Linked DNA regions of Homo sapiens: region 1 is linked to region 2. The links are contacts of gene promoters, found by promoter capture Hi-C in blood cells and fetal thymus (Javierre and others, 2016). All regions are on one chromosome and are shown on one strand. The core of a region is centred on a gene start or on the middle of the fragment in contact, and the rest is flanking DNA. Distances in the headings are between cores, read along the strand shown.

What was found. The method cuts DNA at HindIII sites, captures the fragments that hold promoters and counts their contacts. A CHiCAGO score of 5 or more calls a contact.
Region 1: the fragment with the promoter of ZBTB18 here is called in contact with the fragment with the promoter of KMO in region 2 in 1 of 17 cell types (monocytes); the score reaches 8.6 in monocytes.

Annotation. Positions count from the first base shown.
Region 1 is chr1:244,047,103-244,053,402 of GRCh38, forward strand. ZBTB18 (zinc finger and BTB domain containing 18) reads left to right here and starts at 4,181. Exons shown (of 2, transcript NM_205768.3): 1 at 4,181-4,342. The coding sequence starts at 4,330. It overlaps LINC02774 (long intergenic non-protein coding RNA 2774), which reads left to right. Exons shown (of 12, transcript NR_033883.1): 12 at 1-215. It overlaps LOC124904570 (a long non-coding RNA gene), which reads right to left and starts at 1,139. Exons shown (of 2, transcript XR_007066975.1): 1 at 909-1,139; 2 at 1-495. RefSeq lists enhancers at 820-979, 3,190-3,239, 4,956-5,457 and silencers at 1,150-1,269, 3,420-3,509. The HindIII fragment of the contact is 5,583 bases long and covers 1-5,116 here.
Region 2 is chr1:241,528,812-241,534,819 of GRCh38, forward strand. It overlaps KMO (kynurenine 3-monooxygenase), which reads left to right and starts at 3,567. Exons shown (of 15, transcript NM_003679.5): 1 at 3,567-3,687. The coding sequence starts at 3,634. RefSeq lists an enhancer at 3,150-3,299. The HindIII fragment of the contact is 7,761 bases long and covers 1-6,008 here.

The DNA of each region.
Region 1 (6,300 bases), core at 2,931-5,430, 2.5 Mb after region 2:
GTTCCAGGAATTCTGTCTGCTCCTGTTTTTACTTCATTAGCAATTCAACATGTCTGATTTGCCCACACAATACTTTCCAGCTACTTTACCCATTTGACCTGGAACAAAGTGAAAGCACATTTTGCCCAGTTGAAAGGTCTCCTGGCAGGTTGGTTAGCAACAGGCTTGCCAGTCTGGGTTCTGTTAGCAAAGAATAAACACATTTCATTAGACAATGACTAGTGGACTGACTTCCTCACTATGAAGTTGTTTTTTTTTTTCTATTTTATTTTCTTCAGCCATTCCCCCTCCCCCACCACTTGTTATTCAACTTTTTACTTGTAATTCTTGCCTCGATACGATTTCCAATTTCTTGACGGCAGACATTTCCACGTCTTTGTGGCTGTGATTAACGCAGTCTAATTGCCAAGAACAGGTACCGAGTAAAAGTTTATTTGAAGGAAAGAAAAGCGACACAGCAGTCTTACATCGTCCCTCGGTAGTTTAAAGTTGTGGCTAGATACGTATCAATTAAGGAATCAAGCTGAGGCATCTGCAAGTACCAATTTTACTGTAATGCTCTAAAATTTGGTCACTTGGGGAAGTCTTTACTTGTAACAGTGTAAGTACACAAGGGACAGGAGGGTTTTGCGAGAAAGGCGGGCGCTCTGCCCTGTTCTGCCCGTGACATGATGACGTAAGAACGACTCCCAGAAACTGCCTGAGTCGCCTGCGTCCCCAGCTCCCCGATGTGCACCTGGGCGCGGGACGCCGCAGGACGGAGCGAGAGCGCTCCTCGGTCCCGCTCCCCTGCGCACGGGCCGGCGAGGACCCGGGCGTCTTCACCCCCACAGGAAGGAGCAGAGAGAGCCACCCGAAGTCGGCCTCGAGTCATCCGTGTCCCCGGGTGCCCTGCCTCTCCAGGATACCTGCGTAACTCGCAGCAGCCAAGCCCCACTACGTTCAAAAGTGTGTTTGTGGTTGTCACAGTGCACACCGAAAAGCTCGCTCCGCACCCGCAGAGTGCGCGGGGCCTCTGAGCCTGGAAACAAGCCCCTCCCAGCGCAGCTGTCGCCGCCGCCTGCGGGCTCCTTTCACTTTCTCACGGCCAAGTCACCCAGAGGGGCGCCGCTGCTGCCACCGCCGCTGCGCCCGAGGACTCCGCCCCGCGCCGCTTCGCTCCGGATCCCCGCCCGCCCGAGCCCCGCCCACCCCAACAGTTGCTGCCTGCGATTGGAACGCGCGGGAGGGCAGCTACGGCTCGCCACCCCCATTGGCTGGGCCCCCTTGTCAGTCCGACGACTGCCCACCACCCCCTCCGCCTTCCCGAAGAGCCGCCTTCCCATTGGAGGAGTCTGAGGGCTGGGGGCGGGCGGGGAGCGCCGGTCCAGCCGCTTTCGGTCAATCGCAGAAGCCCAACGCCCGGAGGGAGGGAGGCAGGGGAAGGAGAGGGGCGGACTGAGGGTGGGGGGAACATCTGGCCGGCGCCGCCGCGTGCGTGCGTGGTGCGTCCTCCCGCCCCCTCCCCTCCCCCTCCCCCGCGCCCGCCCCCCCCCCGCCCCCGCCCCCCCACCCGGCCCGGCGGCTCCGCGCTCGCTCCCTCGCTCGCTCCCTCGCTGTGTCTGGCAGGCTGCGGCCGCCGCTGGGCTGCTGCCATGGGGAGCCGTTGAGAGTGGGGCCCTCTTCGCTCCGCCGCGCTCCTCCGGCTGCCAGCGGGGGTGGGCGGGAGGGAGGGGCGGGGGGGAGCGGGCGACGGAGCCGGGATTGGGGGGTGGGGGGGCCGGGAGGGAGGGGGGCAAGAGCCGGAGGAAGCCCACCAAGTCCGGCGGCGGCGGCGGCGGCCGGGAGGAGGAGGAGGAGGAGGCGGAGGACGCGGCGGCGGCGGGGACGCGGTGACTTAGGGCCGCTCCGTGTGAGTCCCGGCGCCGGCCCCTGGCCCCTGACCTGGCGCCCCCTCCGCGCCCCGGCACCCCGGCGGGCGGGGGGCGCCAGCTGTGCGGCCCCGGCCGGCTGGGCGGCGCGGGCGGAGGGCGGGCCGGGTCGGGGGCGCCCCCGCGAGTGGAGTTAGTTTGTGTGGTTGGAGCTGTTGGGGCGGCGGGGGGCGGCGCAGCTGCGGGAGGCCCGGGCGCGGGGACGGGGCCGCTGCAGCTGCGGGGTCGGGCGGGGTGCGGGTTCCCGGCTCCGCGCCGCGCCCCCGCGGGCCGGTGCAGCTGCGGCGCGGGGCGGGCTCCCGGCCGGTGCAGCTGCGGTGGCGCCTCTCGGGTGCGGAGGGCGGCGGGCTGGGGGAGGGGGCTTGGGAGCAGCCGCAGCTGCAGTGGCGCCCGGGACGGCCGCGGCTCCGGGGACCGGTGCAGCTGCAGTGGCGCCCGGGGGAGGGGGCCGGCGGGGGAGGGGGCCCTCCCGGGCTGGTGCAGTTGCCCGGAGGCCCCGGGGGCTCGCGCGTCGCGGCATCGGGGAAGCGGTAGCAACCACTCTCCTCCCGCTGGCTGCTTCTTACGACTTTTCTTTTGTTGTTGCCGTGACCCGGGTCTGTTTTCTCCTCTGTTGTTTAAGGTGTTTTCCTGCTGCACCGGCTCTGCGCCCTCCACCTCCTTCCCTGTGGTTTTAACCTTCCTCTTTCCCCGTGTGTTTTATGCACGGCGAACTACGTAAAGATTTGCATTGCTTCCCCACTCGGCACCCCCGCCCCCACCTCTCTGAAAAACAAAACCCCAACCTCACAAAACCTCTATGGATCCGCGGTAGCGAGACGTGAAGGGGTTGATTTGTGGAGTGGGAGTTGCTGGCCCATTGCGGTGCCCGGGACTCATTAAACTGTCACTCACCCCCCACCCCACTGGGTAAATGGGGTGATTAATGTCTGATATATTGGAATGGGTCGAGGGCATTTGTGGAGAATAGGTGGTGTGGCTGGGAAGAAATTGATCTCCCGAGGATGTCTCCTGGACTAAGTGTTCATAATTATGTCACTCACCGCGAAGTTGGAGAAAGTTAGGTTTGTGACTTTGGGAAAGCGAGAAGGACAGGACGGAGTCGTCGGGTTTTGTTACTCTTTAACTCTCCGCCACGGCTTTCTAATGGGAACGAAGTGGTTATCACCAGGGCTGGGACGCTGGCGCCTCAGGCCCCAGTTCCTTTTCTACCCCTCGCCCTCCCAAGAGTCTGAGGAGATGTATTTGACATTCAGAGATGTCGCAGCACCCTGCCCGGTACCGGTCAGCCCAGCCCGGGTCGCGTTACAGTTTCATCAGCTATTAGAAAAGACCCACAAACTGGCTGAAAAGTTCTCAAACTTACTAGACCTGGCTTCCCCCCACACAAAGATTTTCTTGTGATCATAAACATTAGAGTGACCCCCCCCCAAAGAAAAAAAAGATTGTTAAGGGACACAGATCAAGGGGAAGGCAAGGTTCTGCTTTTTCTGAGCAGAAAGATCAGATATGCAGGTGCAGCATTCATTTTAAGTGACTGGAGCAGGTTGTATCAGTTTATTAATTGGTCTCGTTGAACTGAAGTACTTTCCAGGATTTCAGAAAGTGCAGTTTCAGCTTGTTGGTACCGAGAATTGAAATTTGCATTGACTGTGGCAGTGTAAGAAATTTTTCTGAGAAGGTAGTTGTAGATAAGTAATTACATAAGAGTGAAATAATAAGGTGAACCAGTCTGAAGTAATAGTTCTGAACAAGTCTGCCAACATTTGAGACATGTATACCATTATCTCAGCAGAAAAAAATAAAAAAGTGCGGTAATAATGTTGAAATGGGACTGGAGATGTCAAATGGGTTGGTTTAAAAATATCCCTAAACTGCTTTAGAAACTAAACGTTGGAGTTGAATAAAAGTGAATCTGGATTTCCTGAATAGCACCGTGGCTTGAGTGTGCTGTCAGTATGTAAGCCAGTCCACCAACTTAAGACAGAAGTGTTGCTATTCCATAAATACAGTAGAACTCCATATGCTGAGTTTTTCAATTTCTTCTGTTAGAAAGTTTGGAAAAAAAGGAAGACTTTGAAGTATTTTGTTTATACTAACAGAAGAGAAAAGTTCTCCTAAGAAAAAGCTGGTGGCAGGAGTGTAGAGGAGTAGCATATGGCATTAAAAGGAGCACAGCTGGAGGTAGCATTTCCATCTGAACATGATGTCAGAGCAGCTGACAGCCTGCCATCCCTCAGCCTTTTATTCTAACACACAGACAGGGAGTTAGTGTGTGCGGATCTGTGGTGGAGAAGGTATCTCATTCCTCTCTAACATCATCTCCACTTTGCATCTGTCTCTCTTAGTCTGCTTTTTTTCCACCGATGTAACAGACCTGGAGCCAGCAGGACTCAGAGGAAAGGACTTAATCAGGTTTATGTGTCCTAAAGGTAGGAGTAGCAAGAGATTAGATTGAGCATATTTCTGTTTTGGTGTTTTGTTTATTTAATTTTAAAAATCACATTACTTTTCTAACCCAGTTTAGGAATAATATATGAAATTGAGTATTAAATGAACATCTTACTGGAGTTGAAAGTCTTGAGCTTGTTTAGTTTTAATTTTTTATCCCTTTTACTTGAGCGAGTAAATAACTTTAATACACAAATATTTCAAGTTTTGAAATGTTAAGAAAGGCTTTAAAATGCTGCTTTTGGAAATCACGTTGGATTAAAATGCTTTTTTGTTGTTCACTGCTATTTAGATTTGATTGGGGTGGTGGTGGTGGGGAAATAGTAAACTGGAATCCAGCATTCAAACTTATATGAGAAGATTATTCTAGTTAAGCAGCTAGATTGTTGTATAATTAATTCCTCTGTGAAACTTTATTCTTCAAAACATTGAGCAGCACTACTGAAACATACAGCTGTAGTGCTGTTGAAACTGCAGGTTTTTAAGAAGAAGAAAAAAAAACCAAACTTTTGTCCCCAGGAGAATAGTTTGACTGGTTTCCTCATTTCTCTTTCAAATATATATTTAAGAGATCTTTTATTTCAGCATAACAATAATTATTTGCAGGAGTTTTTGTGTTAGCGACTAATTTAGAACTTGTAGATTTGAGCTGCCTGAATTGGCCAGACAGCTGTAATCGCACTCCTCTATTCTTAATCTCTTTATCTGGGCAGCAGCTGCCATATGGCCACAGTCAGCTGGATCAGATGTTTATAAGCTTCCTTCTTCGTCCCTCTCTGTCCTCTCAGCCTCCTAATTTGATCACGGCTACCTTGTGAGCTGCCCTCCAATCTTTATTTTTAGCCTTCTCAAGGATTAGGATTGATGTTAGCTGTGGGGCACTTAAAGTGATTGTATTGTAAATCTTAGTTTATTCTAGCAGTGGCATCTTGCAGAATGTGTCTGGGGTTAGGATAAAGTTTTAGTCTGTCTTGGGCAAAGTGTAGAAGAACAAGAAGAAAGGAAGTAATTTCTGAATATTAAATTAAGTGTATCTATTCCCAAAATGCACTTGCTGAGATGGGTGGTGTGGAGGCTTGCTTCTGGTCACAGGAAAGGGGAAGTCGGGTCTTCTTTATTTTTCAGGAGTTTACCCACTGCAGTTGAATTCTGACCCTTTGTACATCTTTGCCTTTCTCCTCCCTCCATTTCACTTTCCCTCATCACAAAACAAGGGCAATGATGAATATTTGCAAGAATAGAAGCTAGTGGGAAAACAGAAATATATCAAATTATATTGAAACAAAGTATTTTCTGTTGGCTGAGGTAAGGCAGAACCAGGAAAAAAAAAAAGGTTCTCTTTTTCTAAAAAGGCTTAAAAAAAAACGTTGAACCTGTAAAGCTTTTGAGTTTTATTTAAGCGCTGTATGCCTTTATTTTTAAAAGTTTGAATTAATTTCAATATGAAACTCATTTTGCCTTGCAACGGATCAAAGTTTAGATGAGAATTTTCGGAGTTCAGTAAAGCCCCTCTGGTTCCTAATATTCTGAAAGTACAGTTTCTACAAAGAAATGTAACTACTTTTTTCTCAGTTCGTTTTGAAAAATCTTTGGATTTGTTCATAGTAAAGATGATCTTTTCCATCTGTTGGTGCAGCTCCTTCTGATCTCGTACATGTGTGCTATACCTGCAAATCTGAAGGCATTAACATCTGTTTTTATACACAGGGCTTTTGTTGTAACACCCTGACTTTAAAAGTAAGTTGTTTGCTAATTTCTGGACTAATTATGCAATTTCATTTTTTTTTCTTGATTCAGCCAAATGTGTGTGTGTGTGTTTAAACTGTGCTTTCTAAGCACAGTCAGGTAGCAAAAGTAATAAAAAGGATGGTTGAACAAGTTTTCTTGTATGTTCCAGGATATGTTTGGGACTTTTCTTTGTTTATTATATGAGTTGTTC
Region 2 (6,008 bases), core at 2,317-4,816:
CCATTCAGTCAACAGGAAAGAAAGACAAAAAGGAATGAAGGAAGGAAGGAAAGAAGGAAGGAAGGGACTGTCATTGCGATTGGGTGAAAAGAAAAATCAAAAAATCTACAGACAAAATCAATAGAATTAATAACTTTTGCAATGCTGCTGCATACAAGCTCACAAAATGGAAAATAATGTGTTTCTAAATACTATTAATAGTAGAAAATGAAATGAAAGATATTATTTACAATAAAATTTAAAAAATCAATTACCTAAACATAATAATAGGGGATCAAACCTCTACAGGGAAAGAATATAACTTTGTAAGCCTTGGAGATGACAAACAGATGGTGGGGAGGGGCATATCATATTCTGAATGGAAAGACGCAGTAGTCAAAATAGTTATTCTTTCCAGATAGATGTATAACTTCGAAGCAATCCCAGTCAAAAATCCCAACCATATTTTTATTTTAGGGATTTTTAAAATGGAATTAACAGGCTGATTCTAAAACAGATGGAAATACAAAGCACCAAGAATAGTCAATACATTATTAATGAAGGACAAGGTGGGTGAATTGATGAAGATATTAAGGATTGTATTAAAGCTATTGTAATTTGGCTTTGGAACTGGCATTAGTAGGTATAGTATGGGCAGTATAGACTATATGGAATGAAATAGAATAGAAACCTGGAACGAGACCCACACATATATGAACACTGGACCTACACCAAAGGCAATGCGGGAAAAGGAAAGTCTTTTCATTTATTGGTACAGGGAATATTGGGTATTCATTTGGAAAACAAATAAAATTTTGACATCTATATCACAGCATTCCAAAAACAAAAAAACTAACTCCATGTTGATCATAGACCTAAAAATGAAAGGTAAATTATAACTATTTTAGAAGTCAACATGGAAGAATATCCTCATGACCTCAAGATTATACAAAAAAAGTGATAAAACATGACATGAAAAACTCTAACCACAAGGGAAAAGAATGTATTAAATGAAGAATATTCTTTCATCAAAAGACACCACTAGGAAAGCAAAAAGGCAAGCCACAGAGTGAATGAAATGTTATTTGTGACATATCTAAGTACTAAAGTTCATATGCAATGGGACTCAAAAAAGGAAAAAAAAATTCCCACCCTCCCCCCCCAAAAATTAACACTACCTATACAGAAGAAGAAAAAGAAGTTGTGAATGAACAGGTAAAAATGTGCTCAACTTCACTGATAATCAAAGGACTGCAAATTAAAAGAACACTGAAATATAAAGCACATCTACCAGACTGGCAAAAATTAAAAATTCTTGGCAATACATACATTGGTGAGGATACAGCAGAAGACAAATTTTACACATTGTGTTAAGTAAAAGCTAATGCACTACTTTGGAATGTAACTTTCGTTTATTCAGAAAGGTTAAAAATATGCATAAACATGGCTGGGCGCAGTCACTCACATCTGTAATTCCAGCACTTTGGGAGGCTGAGGCGGGTGGACCACTTGAGGCCGAGTTCAAGACCAGCCTAGTCAACATGGTGAAACCCCATCTCTACTGAAAAAATACAAAAATTAGCTAGGCGTGGTAGCAGGCACCTGTAATCCCAGCTACTCGGGAGGCTGAGGCAGGAGAATCAGTTGAACCTGGGAGGCAGAGGTTGCAGTGAGCCGAGATTGCACCATTGCACTCCAGCCTGGGTGACAGAGTGAGACTCCATCTCAAAAAAACCCAAAAAACAAAAAACAAACAAAAAAGCATAAACAGCATATGAAACCTAGAGATACTCATACATATGTACATGACATTGTATACACAAGAGTGTTTATGGCAACACCATTATTCATGATATTAAAAATTTGGAAACACCCCAAATGTCCATCAACAGCACAATGGACAAATAATAAATGACGATAAAAATGAATGAACTGGAAAAACATGCAACAACACAAATGGATCTTAAGAGATATAATATTGAGAAAAAGAAGCAAGTTGTAAAAAAATAAACAGTATAAGTTCATTTATAGGAAAGTTCAAAAAAGTCAACACTAAACTATTTTAGGGATGCATCTATCATGGTACAATTATACATAAAAGCAAAGAAAGTTGGTATGGCAGTTACCTCTACGAAGGAGGGGTGATTAACAGGGGGCACGTTAGACTTCTGGGATTCTGGCAATATTCTCTCTCTGCACCTAAATGGTAGTTACATGGATACTTGCTTTACAGTAACTTATTATACTGTTCATTTGTGTTATAGTTCATAATTTTTAAAAGATTTTTTAACAATGATACATATTGATACTGAGGAATTGATACATATTCTCTACATATTGATATTGAAGAATTCTCAAGCTATATGTTGTAAAGTGAGAAATATGATGTGGAAAAAGTTTTTAAATGTATGTTTAAAAAGAAAGGAAGGAAGGGAATGAGAGAGTGAGAGAAAGAGAGAGAGAAAAGGAGAGAGAGGAAGAACAAGAAAGACATAATCAACGTGTAGAAGAATACGGTAACCCACACACCAAAACAGTTGTTGTCTTTGGGCAGGAGGAATAGGTGGCCAAGGGTCAAGGTTAGCAGGATTACTATTCACCGTGTACTCTTTTGTGTCTTTAATTTCATGCCATGTTAATGTATTACCTATTCAAAATAAATAAAATACCTAATCATGCTTATCCACAAGGGGTCACTATTGAATGCCATTTAACTCTAGTTCCTAACCAGGGAAAAAAACGTTCTGAATTCTTTATGTGCTTAACAGGAAGTGAAGAAACAACTTCATTTATGTTCTTATTTTACATTACACCACATCATGTTCCAGAAAACAATTGCCATTCGCAAATCATGCACAAAAGTATAACATTTAAAACGGAGTGAAAAAGACAAAAAAGTGAATAGATAATATGAAGTCGGGAATGAGTTTACAGAAGCGTTGTGTCAGTCATCTCCCCTAGTGGTAATTAGACTCTAAATTTTCGATTCTAAAATTAGATTCTAAATTTTCTAGCATCTGGGCTGAAAAAAAAAAGGGGAAGTATGGTCAGTTACACAATTCAAAATGTTGATCGGGAGAATATTAAGACCTTGCAGAGAATTTTCCCTGGTAGAGCCTGTTAAAAACAATCCATGAGGACCCTTTAGATGAAATTTTTGATTGGTCTTAACCACAAAAATGATCCACAGATGAATTATGAAACCATGTCATCTTACTCTCTAAGGGAGGTATAAGATGTTTTTGGACTTCAGATGAGAAGGGCTCCATTCATGGTTAATCATGAATGAAAACGAAACTAAGAATATATGCTGTAGAAAAAGAAGAAGAAAAGCCACAAGACTGCTTAAAAATTTCTGTGTCTTACACAGAAGATAGAAAAAATAGAGTGTCTCCAATTGGATGGATTTTTTAAAAAATTTGGTTATTGTAATGGATTTATTTTTTCTTAGAGCTGAGCTGATTGTACTTTGGCCAACTAATGGGTTAATACTGTCAAGGGAAATTAGCCCTGACTAAACATTGCCGCTGGCTCATGAATGCACTAGGCTTGGGGCAGTATAAAAACTCAGAGAAATCAGTGTGTAGGAGACACAGAAATCAGTGTCACTCAGTGACAGAAGCAACAATAATTGTGAAAAATACTTCAGCAGTTATGGACTCATCTGTCATTCAAAGGAAAAAAGTAGCTGTCATTGGTGGTGGCTTGGTAAGAATTTTCAGATGGATTACTATTGTTGGTGGTATTATATTAACTATTATTACTCGTAATGATTATTATTCGTCACTTCTGCAAATTGTTAATTTTCTTGTGAAAACTCTGATATTTAAATACAGCTATTTTGTTTATTTTTTTAATATTTTTATTTTCATAGATTTAATATAGTATGAGTTTTAATCTGTTCTTTTTCAGGAAAGGTATTTTATAGCCATTAAATACAAAGGTTTCTGTTTTCCCTCATCATTTTGGTTTAGGATTTGTTAAAAAGCAAAAATAATGCAAATTGAATTTGATTTTATCCCCAAATTGGCTATGTTTTTAGGAACAGGAATTAGTCTCAATATTCATTTTAATAAAAACATTTGTTCCGCTTTGTTTAATAACTCAGTTAATGCTGTCTAATGAGAATAAAAGGGTCAAGAAACATGAAGCTAACGTCAAAGTATCATGTTGAATGTTCACTAGTTATATGAGTAATTGGGAATAAGATTTATGTGGTCGCCTGACTTACTTGACTCTTCCAGTGGAGCACCTAAGACAGTGGAGTGAGGTGTTCACCTCTCACTGAGCACGTGACGTAAAGGTGCTGGGGCTTCCCCCATACCTAACAAGACGGAAGGAGAGGTCACTCTCTGCTTTCATAGTTATGGTGCCAAAGGTAGTTCTGTTTAACATGGGTCTGCTCCGATTCAACTTTGCTTTTTCCCATCTCAGCAGAATTTCTGTTTCAGAATACAAACATCCCAGTTAGTCAAGGTTAAATCATTTCCCTATCACCTTTGGTCAAATCATTTGGAGACTTTTCATTAATTATTCATATATCCACTCAACAAAAAATTTATTGAGGGCGTAACACTGTTCTAGGCTGAATATAGATGGTATATTTTATGCCACACATGTATTTATACAGTATATGCTGTCTTTTGTTCTGCCTTCCTTAGTGTCTTTTCCCCAAAGTGCTAGAACAGTTCTTTTAATATTTCTGATTCTAAATTTTCATTTAGAAATGCTATCACATGATGTGTTGGTCACTGGTTGGGACATGTGTCGTCACTGCTTCATACTAGGCTTGTGTCCAATCTGTCCTATCAAAATGTTGCACAAAATGAGAATTCATGTGTTCAACAAAATCTGATTACTATGTACCAATATTGTTTTAGGTAGTAGGGATGCGAGGGTGAGAATTCCAGAGAAGAAAAAGACAAGGAAGAAGAAAACAAATAAGACAATTTCAGTTAAAGAGAAGCACTATGAAAGAAACGAAAACAGGGTAGTGCTGTAGAGAGTATCTTTGGGAGTACCTGTTTAGAATGTGGTCAGGGACAGCTGCTCTGCTGAAGGGACATGTGACCAGAGACCTGAATGATCAGATAGAACTAACTACGTGAAGATCTTGAGAAAGAGCATTTCAGGCAGAGGGAACAGCAGGAAGAGAAACCCTCAGGCAATAATGAGCTGCCCAAGTTCAAGGAGCAGAAAGAAAGGCAGGAACTGCCTGAGGCCAGAGAAGAGTAGCTGATGAGGCCAGAAAAGCTGACAGACCAGATCTTGTAGGATCTTAGAGGTCCAGGCAAGAAGATCAGATTTTGTTCAAATTACAATGGGAAACTATTGGAGGATTTTAGGCAGGAAATTAAGTTGTGATTTTAAAAGGTCCCTTGGACCATTATGTGGAGAATGACTAGGAACATTTTAAGATGACAAGATAGACCAGTTAGGAGGCTGTTACGTTAGCTCAAGACTTGGACTAAGGTGGCAGCAGTGATGTCTCATTTTAAAAATTGTCTCTTAGAAATCCAAGGGAGAGATAACAAATATGTGATTGTATATATGGTTTTGGGGGGCATAAAAATGTGGGTGTCATCCATGGATTTCTCCCTGAATAACATGAGATTGTCATCATGTAACCACGTCATACATATGCTGGAAAATAGGAGACAAAAATTACTACTTGCGTATTAGGGAGCAACTAAAATTCCTCTGCAAAAGAATTCTATCCATCCTATTGTTCAAGTCCATGCTTACGCATCATGTTTGATTCCTATTGTCATTTTGTGCAAACGCTTATTCTTCTTTCACTCCATCAGTAAGCCTTGAGGCTCTATATCCAAAATACATTTAAATTCTAGCCATTACAACCATCCTGGCCCAAGCCATTATCATCCGCCATCCTTATTCCTGCAACAAGCTCCAAATTAGTCTCCCAGCTTTAACTCCTTTTCCCTTATAGTCCATACTACACACCACAGCCAGAAACACCCTTCTAAAACATGAGTCTGATCATTATCATCCCCTGCTTAAAATCTTCC